Linked DNA regions of Homo sapiens: regions 1 and 2 are each linked to region 3. The links are contacts of gene promoters, found by promoter capture Hi-C in blood cells and fetal thymus (Javierre and others, 2016). All regions are on one chromosome and are shown on one strand. The core of a region is centred on a gene start or on the middle of the fragment in contact, and the rest is flanking DNA. Distances in the headings are between cores, read along the strand shown.

Region 1 (3,373 bases), core at 1-2,500, 580 kb before region 3:
TTACAAAGTAGAATCTCAGCAGGAGAGCAGAGCTCTCCATACTGGGAGAGGAGGGAGTCACTGAGTACGTTCTGAAGCTCTGAAAGAGACTGAACAGTTCACAGAGTCCATTCCTTTGGGGCTGCCTGAATTCTGATAAGCTTAACACAGTCCATCTCTTGGGGCATTTACTAGCCAGGCTGATGACAGTTGTCACCCTCAGAAGCCTGGCGATCGATACCAGCTGAAAACCACTGTCTACTGCATCATTTAATAGGGTCAGAAGGAGGCCATGTGACCTTTCAGGTCTCTTTAAACCATCTTTATCGTCCATTGTGCCTCTGATCTCCTCATTTTCCCAAGCACTTACCCTGCTCATATTTTCTCCAAAGTTTACTTGTGGAATTCCAAGCCACTGCTCTGAGCCTGGGTAACAGACCAATTTCATAGCTGGTCATTCATTCACCCTTGATGAGGGGCGAGGTTAATTCTTCTCCACAGCAGCATAACCTGCCCAGCGCTGGGACTCGGGCACACATGGCCCCAGTGGCATTCCCGCTCCCTGCCTGGGCCTGAGGAGAGGGATGGTGAGCCCAGGAGGGAGGTGGCACTGCACTGCCCACCACACCTCAGCCACCACGCCTCGTCACAGAGCTCGAGCAGCAGAGGGTCCAGCCCTCCACAGCTTCCCTGAGCAGCTCACTCTGAAGTGTGCCTCTCCGTCTTGTCAGGAAGGTGCTTCTCTCAGCCCCGAGTCTCTTCTACAGCAGCAGACCGTCTCAGCTGCTCATGGTGCATGGCCGCCACTTCGGGTTGGTTATTAGTCCTGTGTTCAAGCCGGGCTTCATGAAGCCGCACTTTTTGAATGTGCTCCACTTCTGGGTTTGTTAACAGTTGTGGCTGCTGATACCATTTTGTTGAATTCAGCTTTAAAGAGTGAACATTCCCCTCCATCTTTTGAGTTCCTCAGCTGGTCAGACTTTATCTTTGTGGGAAGCGTGGGGTGGATCAATCTGCAGGTCTCCCCTCTCTGGGCCTGGCTGCCCTCTAAATCTTTTCATTATAACAGAACACATTTTGAAGCACAAAGTGACAGGAAGTTCGGCAGGTTTCTCAGGCCTCATTTTTGAGGTATCCTCTTGGTTTTGGGGCCTCATCTGGCATTGCTTGCTCAGGCCAGGCCCAGCAAGCGGGGTGTAGGGCAGGGCACACACTGGCTACGGGGGTCTCTGCAGCAGGACAGAGGGGGCTCCCTACTTTTATTTTTCCTGGGGGGTTGCTAAACCCCCCTGGCCAGGCTGTGACAGCCTCTTACCTAAGTACCTTAAGAGATTTTGTGTGAAAAGCAAGCCTTTCCCACAGGACACGAAGAATACAGAGGGTGGCCGGGCTCGGTGGCTCACGCCTGTAATCCCAGCACTTTGGGAGGCCGAGGTAGGTGAGTCAGCTGAGGTCAGGAGTTCGAGACCAGCCTGGCCAACATGGTGAAACCCCATCTCTACTAAAAATACAAAAATTAGCCAGGCGTGGTGACGCATGCCTGTAATCCCAGCTACTCGGGCGGCTGAGGTAGGAGAATTGCTTGAACCTGGGAGGCGGAGGTTGCAGTAAGCCGAAATCACACTACTGCACTCCAGCCTGGGTGATAGAGTGAGACTCCATCTCAAAAAAAAAAAAAAAAGAATGCAGAGGGTGACACAGCTAGGTGTCTGAACAGTGGTGGGGGATGTGCGTTCACTGATGCGTTCTCCTTGGAATACACACACAGGCAGTTTACAGACGAGTAGTGCAGAGACCTTGTGCATATCTTGTTTGGGAACTGTGGTTCTACCTGTCTATTGCCATATAATAGAAAAATCATTAAGTATAGGGACAACTGACCATCCCCTGTCACCAGAACAGAAAAGCAGTCCATCAAGTCCTGTATTTCTTGTTCCCAGTAGAGATCTCAGGGTAACAAGCATGAGTGTAGAGGTGCAAGGCTCTCAGAGACCCTTGGCTGCATGGGTTCTCACGTTGTCCACCGAATCCCAGGCATCCCCTGGGGATAAGGGGTTGTGGGGCAGCAGTGCCAGCCACTCAGGTACTGAGTCCTTCCATCCCCAGTTTGAGCAGAGCTGCTCTCCTTTTCAGGCTCTTATTTCTTTTTGTTTGTGTGTATGAATAAAGGGTCCCTGGCTGAATAGCTGGAATATCTTTAGTCAGGTCTAAGCCTATATCTCATGGATGGGGAGACCCAGCAGTGCACCACAAGTGGCTGGTGTCCCTCTGGGATGGAAGCCTGGCACTGCAGTGCCCTCTTGGGCAAGGATGCATCACTGGCCATCCCTGCCTGCCTTCCAGAACCTCACGTTAGCTCTGGATGCAGCATCTATGAATTTAAAGCTTTTTGAAACCTATAGTTCCAGCTTCCGTCATGTGTTTGGGTCATGAACTCTACAGCCCACAGAATTTAGTGCACATACCAAGTTCACTCTTGCTTTGTCAGTTACAACTTTACAAATTTGATTAATTTACTCTCCATTAGCTTAGGGTCTGCTTATCTGCTTAGGGCCTGTTATTTTTTTTTCTTTCTTTTTGTTGGTCTGTTCTCAGAAGAAGCCTATTCTCCTTCTGATTGTCTTGCCTGAACATTGGGTCTTTTGTTTTGCCTTTCCCTAGACGAGGTTCTTAGCACTGTACCATGTTCGTGTCTAGTGATGATCCTGGTAGTGACTGGCATGCTCTTTGGCTTTGCTGGCCTGACAAGCAGGTGTTGTGCCATCTTCAGGAGTTGATGAGACACTGATATTTTTCTGGCATACAACAGATACCCGGAGCCCACCATCATATCACTTGGATGATGTTTCATTAAATACCAGCCTTGGTGTCATAGTGCAGTATCTGATACGGTGCATAGTCCTTTATCTGAAGCCCCTGTGGCCAGATGCTTTGGAATGCACAGGTTTTCAGATTTTAGAAAGTACTGTGGTACACAGTTGGTGTTTACTTATGTAAGTAATATGGTGCCCATCGCATATGTGTACCATGGTATACATACAGGATTTAACATCCCCGGGGGAGCCTGAGACAGCACTCTGCAACCAAGCTCATATTATTGCCACACTGAAAAGTATGAATATTTACATAAAATGGGATAAGTAAAGATTGCAAGTAGTCTTATATCAGCTCAGGTCTGGTTGTGCTGCCAAATGAGATTGCCACAGATTTACATGAAAAAATTACCTTGTTTCAGAGCTTGATGGATTTGGTGACTGTGTGCCTAGGATTGTATCTAGAGGTGCAGGGAAAATGCCCTGAAATCTCCCCATGGGGAGAGGAGGTGCACTCAGGTGGCCTTTTCCCAGTCCAGAGGCTGCCCTGCCCCCTACTCTGTGAGCCATTCAGTTGTGAG
Region 2 (4,743 bases), core at 328-2,827, 600 kb before region 3:
CCTATTTTGAGATTGTCTTTTTAAGATGAAATGGTCTTAGAAGGCAGCTATTCATTTGGAAGAGTGATTGCAGATTGGAAAGTAGTGTGCACATCATGCTGTGGAATGACTCCTGTTGTGCCCCACGAGCTTGAGTGCGGTCTGCTGCATGGGCTTCTGGCACATCCATTGTTTTTTACTGTGGCGTGTGGGCTTGTGGTGGTGGTGTTTCTTTCCGGGGTGCTTTGGTTTTCGGTTTTTGCATGTTTGCCACATAATCCAGCAAGGGAAGGGGTAGTGGTGGTTTCTTGATGAACCACTTTGGGACTTCCCTGGGAAGGGGCCAATGGGGAAGATTCTCAGCCCTGACCAAGGTGACTGTCATCTCCAGGGGAAGTGATGGAGGATGTGGTGAGAGGTGCCCTCGCTCCTCCTCTCTCTCTCTTCCCCAGAATTCAAAGGGTAGCCCTTTAGGGACCAGTCAGGACCCCTCATCCCATGAGCGAAGGGACACCCATTCTACCCAGAGCTCACAATTTCAAATTTTAGGAGGAGACCTCTGCATTGGTGGCTTGTACTTCTTCCTGCTTTCTTCAGCTTCCTCAGATGGTCTGAAAAATAAATTTATAATATTGGATTGATTGGGATCAGGCTAAGAGACATGCAATTTATCATCACCGTTTAGTTGGACCCAACACACTGGCCAGGCCCCCACAGCGGGAGGATGTGAAGTTGGTCTTTCAGAGCCTCCTGATTGTGCTGGGAGGGGCTGGGCTGTAGGCTTGGCATCAGATCCCTAGACACACACGCTGCTTGGTGGCGAAGAGGTGGGAAGGAGGGAGAGCCAGGGTTACAAAGCCACTGAGGAGTCCGGCTTTGCCTGTGGCTTGGCATGTTCTCCACTTTTTCTTCATTTGATGAAACGTTATTTTTCAAAGTAGGGAAGTCCTGGAGCGAAGGAAAGGGAAAGGAAACCCCATTTTCTAGGGACTTGCTGGGGTCAGACATGAGAGGAAGGACGACTGTGGGTATGTTCACAGGGAGCTTGAATGCCTGATTGGCCAAAAGAAAAAATAGGTTTTGGTTGTTTGGGGACAAAGTCTAACACCCACTGCAGTCTCTGCTACACTGTGATAACCTGACCCCTTCTTCTGTAAATGGCCTCTATGTCTCCACTTAAGTACTGCTTATAAGTTAATAGATGAGGTTGTGAGGTGGAAGATTACGATCATTTGGGTGATTATGGGATATGATTGTTCAATACCTGTTCATACATTTACATACACAAGTAAAAATACAGATACATGCAAATACAGATAAAAGACTGAGTCATAGTTTAATATTTCAAGCTCCTGCCATATAGACAGGAAGAATCTCCTAAGATATACTTTGCTCATCAACAACTAGAGTAGCTTGAGAGAACATCCCTGAGTCACAGAACACTTCATCTTAGGGTCAATTGTGGCTGGGGTTGGAATGATGCTGTCATCCTTTTCAGATTCTGGAGAATCCCTTAGAATCCATTCTTATCCTTTCCAGTACATCATCTGGCTGCCAGTCCATAATCTACATACCCCAGGATGTTGTCAGAGCCAAGGAGATCATCGCCCAGATCAACACCCTGAAAACCCAAGTGAGTTACTACGCAGAGCGGCTGTCAAGGGCAGCCAAGGACAGGTCTGCCACTGGCCTTGAGAGGACACTCGCCATCTTGGCAGACAAGGTAGGAGGGGTGCCCTGCTACATATGGGCTGGGGAGTTTCCTTGGGTTTCTGGAAGCCACCAGGCAGCCCAGGTGTACCTAAGATGGTCCACAAAGAGCGTGACATTGGGATGACTTTGAAGGTCTACCTTAGGTCCATTTCGCACAAAGGCCCAGGGAGGTTTTGTGATTTGTCCGCAGAGCTGGACAGACCAAGGGCAGAGCCCAGGGCTCATGACTCTTAGGTGCAGCTTCAGGCACATGTGCCCTTCAGCAAGTCCATGGGGCTCATTTTGTTGAGGGTGATACAGTTCCACTTCTTTCTCAGTAACAGCCTAACTAGCACTTTTTTTTTTTGGCCACATTTCTATTTTAGTTGAATTTGAAAACAGAAACTGAGCTATTATACAGACATAAGAAGAATATAATTTTATTGGCTTACATATAGTCAGTAAACCAGCTTCTACTTAGCCATAACTTGATCCTGGTTTTAAAATATGTAAGTATTAATCCCTACTGAGGAAGTGGCTATTATCAGACCCTTTTGATGGATGATACTTTTCCCCATTACTTGGTCTCTCTCTCAGCGCACACAAACACGCTCTCATACACACACACACGCTCTCATACACACACACACACCCCAGATTCTGACTATACCTCCACACTCACACTCACTGTGCTGTTGAGCTGCTGTTCCTGATCAGAATGTGTTATATCCTTCACAGGTGTTCACACAGCATAGAGTGTGAGGTGGGGATTAGATCCCCTGGAAAAGAAAGATGTAGTTGTCAGCAGTAACATTATGAACCACAGAACCCGTGTTGCATGCAGAATTCTCCAAAACCAGACATGTTGTGCCAGGAGGCCAGCTACCCAGAACCCAGAACTTGAGGTATTAGATGCTGAGGAACAAAAGATAAGACTTACACAATTGAACCAAAGTAAGGCCTGACCCCTGGACACTTGTTCCCTGGAAGGTGGAAGTCTGTCAAGGCTGGGGCAGTGGGCTCTCTCTGCAGGCCCCTCCCCTAGCAATCACAGGTCAGAGGTAGGCAGGGATCAGAGAATGTCAGAGATTTCTCAACCTCTTCTCTTCCTTGGTGGGAAATTCTTGTTAAGATTCAGCCCAAGTGGGCCACATGGCAGTCTTTGTACTCAGACATCTTGAGGGATGTAGCCCTTCAGTTGCTTTGCACTGTGGAGAAAGGCAGAGGGGTGCAGTGCTGGGCTTTAAGCCCATTCTCCATTTCTGAGATAAGGCAGGGGCCTCCCCAGCCCCTGGCCTGGGCTCAGCAGCCTTGGTTTGTGTGCACCTGCAGACACGGCAGCTGGTCACGGTCTGCGACTGCAAGCTCCTGGCCAACTCCATCCATGGGCTGAACGCTGCACGGCCTGACTACATTGCCTCCAAGGCCTCTCCCACTTCGACTGAGGAGGAGCAGGTGATGCTTAGAAATGACCAGGACACCCTCATGGCCCGGTGGACAGGGAGAAACAGCCGATCTTCCCTGCAGGTGGACTGGCACGAGGAGGAGTGGGTGAGTCTGCTGCTGTGGCTGTCATCCCACTGCTGAACTTGGGCTGAAAACCACAAAACCTGTTGCCAGTCTCTGCCCCTCTGAAGTGCCTCAAGGTTCAACTGCTGTGAACAAGCTCCAGGTTTCCTTCCTGGATGGCTCCTTGGCTCCTGATGCAGGGAGGGAGGAGACTGTTTTCAAACCCTTGTGTCCAGATAGGGGTAGGGCTGTGCTGGGGGCTGGGCCAGCCTCAGACCTGGATGAAGAGGAAGACAAGTGGGTTTTCCTCCCGTGTTGGAGGTCTCTCCTTCCCCTGCCTCCTGTGCCTTCTATGGCCTTGGGATGCTTGAGACCAGTCAGTGCTCTGTTTGCTGTTAGATTTTCCAGGGCTATGTGTATTTGGGGACGTGGGAGCTCTGGTGCTGGGGCAAGTAGATATGGATTTTGGAGCTGCCGCCCTGACATTACATCACATTATTGTTCCTCAGAGAATTGGCCCTGGGAGCAGGATCTGTGTTTCTTGAGGGAGTGACACATTGTACAACTTGTTTTTACCATTTATTGAGACTACTGCTTAGAGGCATTGTTCTACAAGCACTGAACTATTAATCAGCAGCAAAGTCCCATCCTATACACTGTGCGTGTTTCTGCAAATCACTCCCAGACCTTCCTCTCCTCCTCCCCACCTCCCCTATCGAAATTTCTGTTCCCTTCTATCAAAAGGAGGCCTCCATTTTGTCTGTGTGTGATGATTGTAGGAAGTCTGCAGTGGCAAGAGGAGGAGATGAGACAGTGCCCTGTGGCCTTTCAGGCAGCACTGGAGGGCCACCTGGCCTCCAGAAGAGTTACTAGCAAACATCTCCCAAACTCTAAAAACAATGGCCGCAGGACATCGATTCATCGTTGAAAAGCAAATGCAACTTTAGTGGGGAATTAGGAATCATCTTTATATTTCTAAACTTTGAGGTATTTTAACAAGTGTGGAAGCCTAGGGCAGGGGATCAGTGGAGGGCGATTTGGTTTGTGTTATGTTTGTGTTTCTGTTCGGGAGAGCTGACCCACATGGGCCCCTTTGATTTGGAAGGAGAAAGTGTGGCTGAACGTGGACAAGAGCCTAGAGTGCATCATTCAGCGTGTGGACAAGCTGCTGCAGAAGGAGCGGCTGCATGGCGAGGGCTGTGAGGATGTCTTCCCCTGTGCAGGCAGCTGCACCAGCAAGAAAGGTAACCCGGACAGCCACGCCTACTGGATCAGACCAGAAGACCCCTTCTGTGATGTCCCCTCCTCACCATGCCCCTCCACCATGCCCTCCACTGCATGCCATCCTCATCTGACCACACGTGCGTATGCATCCATGCTTCCCATATGCTGCCTCCATTTCACCTTGTGCTGCTTCCATTTGTCTGTGTCTCTGACTCCATGCCCTCCTCCCCCATGCAGACTGCAGGGAGGGCTGCCAGGTGGAGCGGGGGCGTCCCAGTGCATGGAGCAGCAGGCAGTGAGAGCGGAGTCTCCGGTTGCCTTTCCATGTAACTGGAGCCC
Region 3 (5,077 bases), core at 2,305-4,804:
TGGAGGCGGAGGCTGCACTGAGCTGAGGTCATGCCATTGTACTCCAGCCTGGGCAACAAGAGCAAAACTCCGTCTCAAAAAAAAAAAAAAAAAAAAAAAAGTCCAAGCAATGTGACATCCGTATTTCACAATATTTCTGGTGTATCAGTTTTGTATGTTACATTTCCATTTTGGGATTCTGCTTTATGATACTTTACTTTCTTACATTTTGCATTTTTGTTCTGTAAAAGATCACTGCCAATAAACTGCAAAAGACCAATAAATTGCATATCTTCAGAAGGATTTCACATTTTAAATCGTGCCTTTAAAACTGCTTTTTCCCCCCACATAGAATCCATTTTAGAGTTAGAAAAGTGTTCTTTCCAAGTGTTAATAGTTTGTCTTGCAGATGGTACCATTTTATGTCACCAATATTTAATATGAGAAAAAACAACCTGTTTAAAAACCTTGTTTTGTATATCAGTTATGAAAATATCTGGTAGTTGGAAATCTCTTTAATATTCATTTTAAAAGAGGAAAGGGCATCTTTTCCGGGGGGAAGCTATATTTTATTAATCAGAAAAATACTAAACAAATGTGTTTGTAGGGAATATTGAGAGTGAAAAACAATTGTTGAATGGGACATAAGCCAAAAAGACAATGCTTTTTATTATTTACAGAACGTAATTCTTTAGAAGAGAAAAAAAATACATAAATCATTCATTTGTTCACCTAGCCTGGCACTGTGCTTGGTGCTGGAGATACAGTAGTGAATAAAATAGCCAGTGCCTTGTAGAGTTTTGTGCCTGTCTACTAGGAAAGACAGGAGATTATACAGTAATTATATAAGATGCAAATTGTGATATGCCATGAAGAAACGTATAGCATTCAGAGGGACATAACACAACACAAGACATACCACATAAAACTGATTTTTTTTAAGATGGTCTCACTCTGTTGCCCAGGCTGGAGTGCAGTGGAGCGATCATAGCTCAGTGCAGTGTCGAATTCCTGTTCTTAAGCGATCTTCCTGCCTCAGCCTCCTAGTAGCTAGGATTACAGGCATGTGCCACCATACCCAGCATGTTTTTGTATTTTTTTAGAGACAGAGTCTTACAATGTTACCCAGACTGGTCTCAAACTCCTGGCCTCAGGTGATCCTCCCACTGGGCCATAAACTTGATTTTAACGTGGGAAATGGGAAAGCGTATCTCAGGACATTTTTGAAAGCAAGTTGATTAAGAAAGTAAAGAAACAGAATGGCTACTCCATAGAGCAGCCTCTGAGGACATTTATAGCTTTTGCAGTGACATGGTTGTCTAAGTGAATGATGGTGATGGTCATAAAAGTGGAGAGAAGGGGATAGAGTCCAGGTGAAGTCTGACAGGATGTAGTCATGGTTTGGAAGCGGAAAGTGAGGAAGAAGAAAGGGCTTCTGGCAAAAAAGGCTTTAGCCTTTATGCATGCAGGATCCCTGGGGGGAAAGAGTGAGTTCAGGAGCATGGCTTTTAGACTTACCAGGTTTACAAGGCAGTTGTATCTATGGAACTAAAAAATATAAATTTTGAAGTTGTATACAGAAATGGTACTTAGAGCCATAGAATGAATGAAATTGCTTAAGGAAAATGTAGTGTGAGATAAAGATCTGAGGAACTCCAACATTTAGGGCTGACTAGATCAGGGTAGCTGGCAAAGGGGACTGCGGAGTTGGCAGTGAGGCTGGAGGAAAACCTGGCAAAAGGGACTGAGGAGTTGACAGGGTAATGTCAAAGTTGTCCACAGGAATCTCCAGGTTGAGGTAGTCAAATGAACACTTAGATGAATACTGAAAAGTCCAGTGGATCTAGCAATATGAATGTCACCCGTGACCTTAGCAAAAGCACTTTTGCTGGAATAATGGGGAAAAGCCATTTTGGAGTACGTTGAAACAATGAATGGGAAGTGAGAAAGTAGATACTGGATGTATAGCAGTTTTTCCAAGAAGCTTGGCTCAGAAGGGTAGCAGACAGGATGACAAGTGGAAAGAGAAATGAGGTCACTGGAGGATTGTTAAAGAGTACAGCATGTTTGAGTGTCACTTGAAAGGTTCCAGTGGAGAAGCTGAAGAAGTAGGTAAAGGTAAGAATAACCAAGGGACAGAAGTCCTGGAGCAGGGAGGAGGGAATGGGATTCTTTAAAACCTCTTCATCAAGAAACTAGGAAAAAAAACCAAAGTTGTACCATCTCAGATTTCAGAGAAAGGGAATTTAGAAGGAAGTAATATAAGCAAAGAGCAACAATATTCTGTGACTGTTTTTAATAATAACTAGGAAAATTCCTAGTGCAGTTAACTCTGAACAAAATTCATTCCCACCTGCATAATACAAGATAGACTTACTCAGAGTGACCTTGGTAAAAGGTGTGATAATAAAGAAAGGAGGTGTCATTATGTCTTCATTGTAGCTTTATATGAAGCCCTGGTCATTTACCGTATCAGCATCAGCAAACTGAACACTGAATGATTCTTACTCCAAGAGGCAAGTCTTAGTGGTTTCTATTTTAACTGAAGGAGAGATTAATTTCTGTGCAAGGTTGAAAAAGGTGACCACAAATTCTTTGGGCTTCTTTCATCAAGAGGTGAAGTCCATTACCCCACGCCTTAACTCTGGGCTGGCTTTGTTGTTGTTTTGGCCAATAGAATATGGCTGAGGCGCTGCTTCCAAGATTAGGCCTGAATTGAGATGCCCTAGCAGCCAGGCAGCACCTGCCAGAGCATGAATAAGGCTATCTTGGACCGCCCAGCGTAGCCAACCTGTGCTGAATGAAGCCACATGAATATGCCCAGGAGAAACTAGCAGAAGAATCACCCACCTTGCCCACGTTAGAGATATAAACCACTATTTGAGGCAGTTTGTTATGCAGCAAAACTTAGCCGAAACTATTACCTTGCTACCTTGACTGCTGGTGTAATTTCCCATCTCATGGAGTCACAGAGTTTTCTTGCCAACTGCAGTGAGTTGGCAAATGGGAATGATCAGTAGCCTCAGTGTGTTTTCTGATCCACTCCATCCTGTATTATCATCTGCGAATACCGTTTTTCCTTTAAATGCAATGTGTCTTTCAAAGCTGACTTGAATTTCTCACCTTTCGAGTTACCTGCCATTTGGACTCACTTATTTGGAGGAGATATGTAAAGACCCAGCGTAATACCTGTATGCTCAATAAAAAGTATTTGCTGGTACTCCTTCCTGCCCGTCGTGTGACCTGACTGCTCTGGGCTTCTGGGGGCTCCCCCTAAACTCGCTCCACGAAATGACCCCTCCAACCTGGCACGCCCGCTCTCCTACCTTCGCCCAGGGCTGGCCGTTATCTCTGTGCTGTCACGCGGGGAAGTCCCATCTGAACTGGGGCCTTATGACCTTCGGTACTTTTATTCGAACGTAGCCTGCGTCCCTGCCTGGAACCTGGTTCCCGCCCTGAAGGACCCTTACTTAGCACTCCTGCGGGCTGCCGGGACCCCACGGCTCCGCAGGCGGAGAGACTAGGCGCGATCCCTGCGCGCCCCTCCTTCTCTTGCGCTTCAGGGGGCCGGCCCTCAGGGGGCGGGGCAGCATCGCGCGCAAGGCCTGCCGGTTGCTCGGGGTCGTATGACGCACTTTTCCAGCTCGAGCCCTCACGAGGCCGTGGGTACGACCGGAAGCCGCAGGTGGGTGAAGCGGAAACGCTTCAAACCGGGATGTTGCGGGCCGTAGCGCGTGGGCGGCCGTGGGGTCTTGGGCGCGCGCGGTGTTTCTGGCGGTGGGTCAGGACTTGCGGGTCGCCTCCGCCGGTGTTGAAGCCTCTTGTGTGCACACTTTCTCCTCAGCACTTGGGACGACCTAATTTCACTGTTAGGAACGGTTGATCCCGAACACAGGAGGGAGGGTAAATATCGTAAAACATGTTGGACGCTAGCTGTGTGCACGCCCCCTGGGAGCCAAAAGGGCGAAGTAAAACATGCACACGACCGTAATGAGATTCTGAGTAAGTTGTATATCATTAGAGAGGGGACAAAATAATAGGGTCTTGGCGAGGTCTTATGAAGAAGCTGCGCCTGCCTAGAAAGATAGATGGGATTGTGCTGTTTTCGCTTTCAGTTCAGTGATGGGGAGCCGTGTTTGGCAGTGCAGAGGTAGCGAAGTGTCCCAAGAACATGGAAGGTAAGGAAGTCTTCCGAGGAAAAACTTCAAAAAATTAGTCATTAAAGGGTGAGAGTAGAAAGATTCAAAGTGATTTTGAAGGAACAAAATTTAACCAGAACTTCAAAGGCTTGACACTATCCCAACGACTGTGAAATATCCTGAAATACCGTGCATTACTCAGTCGGGGTCTGATCCGCTACTGGAGCATAGAATAAAAAAAGAGGGGCACACCTGTGCCAGATGAATCCACGCCTTCTCTAGGGGAGAGAGGGTATCCCGGCTTAAGAGCAGGGGCTCTCCTGAGTTAAGGAAGTGTCTTCCCCAGAGCCCATTCCGTCAGACGTTCATATCATGTAACTCAGTCCTTTTCTGATTATGTATTCACCAAGCAAACTTAAGAGTTGGCTTGTCACCAGACCTACAGTGAATAATTGCACAGGCTCATCTGAATATCTGATAGATGGTCTATAGTTCTCTTTGTAAATCAATAAGCTGGCAGTCAGGGATTTTTGGACATCCCTTTGTTTTCACTTTTTCTCACTCTGTGTGATTTTTTCTTATCTTTCGGGGTTCAACTGAAATGTCACATCCTCACTGAGGTCTGTTTATTGGTTTACGTGTTCAGGTGCTTAGAACAGCTTCTTGCATCTTTTCTCACATGATGCCTTTTTAATGAGGCTTAGCCTAACAACCCTATTTAAAATTGCAATGTAAGTTTTCTCACATACACAGTTACAATCCTCCCTTTATCAGCTCTACATTTTTTTTTAATAGACTGAATCTCGCTCTGTTGCCCAGCCCATCTCGGCCCACTGAAACCTCCACCTCCCGGGTTCAAGCGATTCTCCTGCCTCAGCCTCCCGAGTAGCTGAGATTACAGGCGCCTGCCACCACGCCCAGGTAATTTTTGTATTTTTGGTAGAGACGGGGTTTCACCA

The links. The method cuts DNA at HindIII sites, captures the fragments that hold promoters and counts their contacts. A CHiCAGO score of 5 or more calls a contact.
Region 1: a fragment that was not itself captured here is called in contact with the fragment with the promoter of TSGA10 in region 3 in 2 of 17 cell types (naive CD4 T cells and total CD8 T cells); the score reaches 5.3 in naive CD4 T cells.
Region 2: a contact is called between a fragment that was not itself captured here and the fragment with the promoter of TSGA10 in region 3, in 1 of 17 cell types (naive CD8 T cells). The highest score is 5.3, in naive CD8 T cells.

Annotation. Positions count from the first base shown.
Region 1 is chr2:98,572,994-98,576,366 of GRCh38, forward strand. The region is part of intron 23 of INPP4A (inositol polyphosphate-4-phosphatase type I A); the gene reads left to right. Among named protein-coding and RNA genes, the nearest start is that of COA5, 34 kb to the right of the region's middle. RefSeq lists a silencer at 1,255-1,437. The HindIII fragment of the contact is 2,224 bases long and covers 139-2,362 here.
Region 2 is chr2:98,551,268-98,556,010 of GRCh38, forward strand. It overlaps INPP4A (inositol polyphosphate-4-phosphatase type I A), which reads left to right. Exons shown (of 25, transcript NM_001134225.2): 14 at 1,519-1,702; 15 at 3,004-3,222; 16 at 4,286-4,541. Among named protein-coding and RNA genes, the nearest start is that of COA5, 55 kb to the right of the region's middle. RefSeq lists an enhancer at 3,107-3,607. The HindIII fragment of the contact is 7,637 bases long and covers 1-4,743 here.
Region 3 is chr2:99,151,388-99,156,464 of GRCh38, forward strand. It overlaps TSGA10 (testis specific 10), which reads right to left and starts at 3,555. Exons shown (of 21, transcript NM_025244.4): 1 at 3,306-3,555. It overlaps LIPT1 (lipoyltransferase 1), which reads left to right and starts at 3,580. Exons shown (of 2, transcript NM_145199.3): 1 at 3,580-3,664. C2orf15 (chromosome 2 open reading frame 15) reads left to right here. Exons shown (of 4, transcript NM_144706.4): 4 at 1-282. RefSeq lists enhancers at 3,187-3,808, 3,198-3,397, 3,458-3,687, 3,718-3,917, 3,998-4,077 and 1 more. The HindIII fragment of the contact is 4,304 bases long and covers 1,962-5,077 here.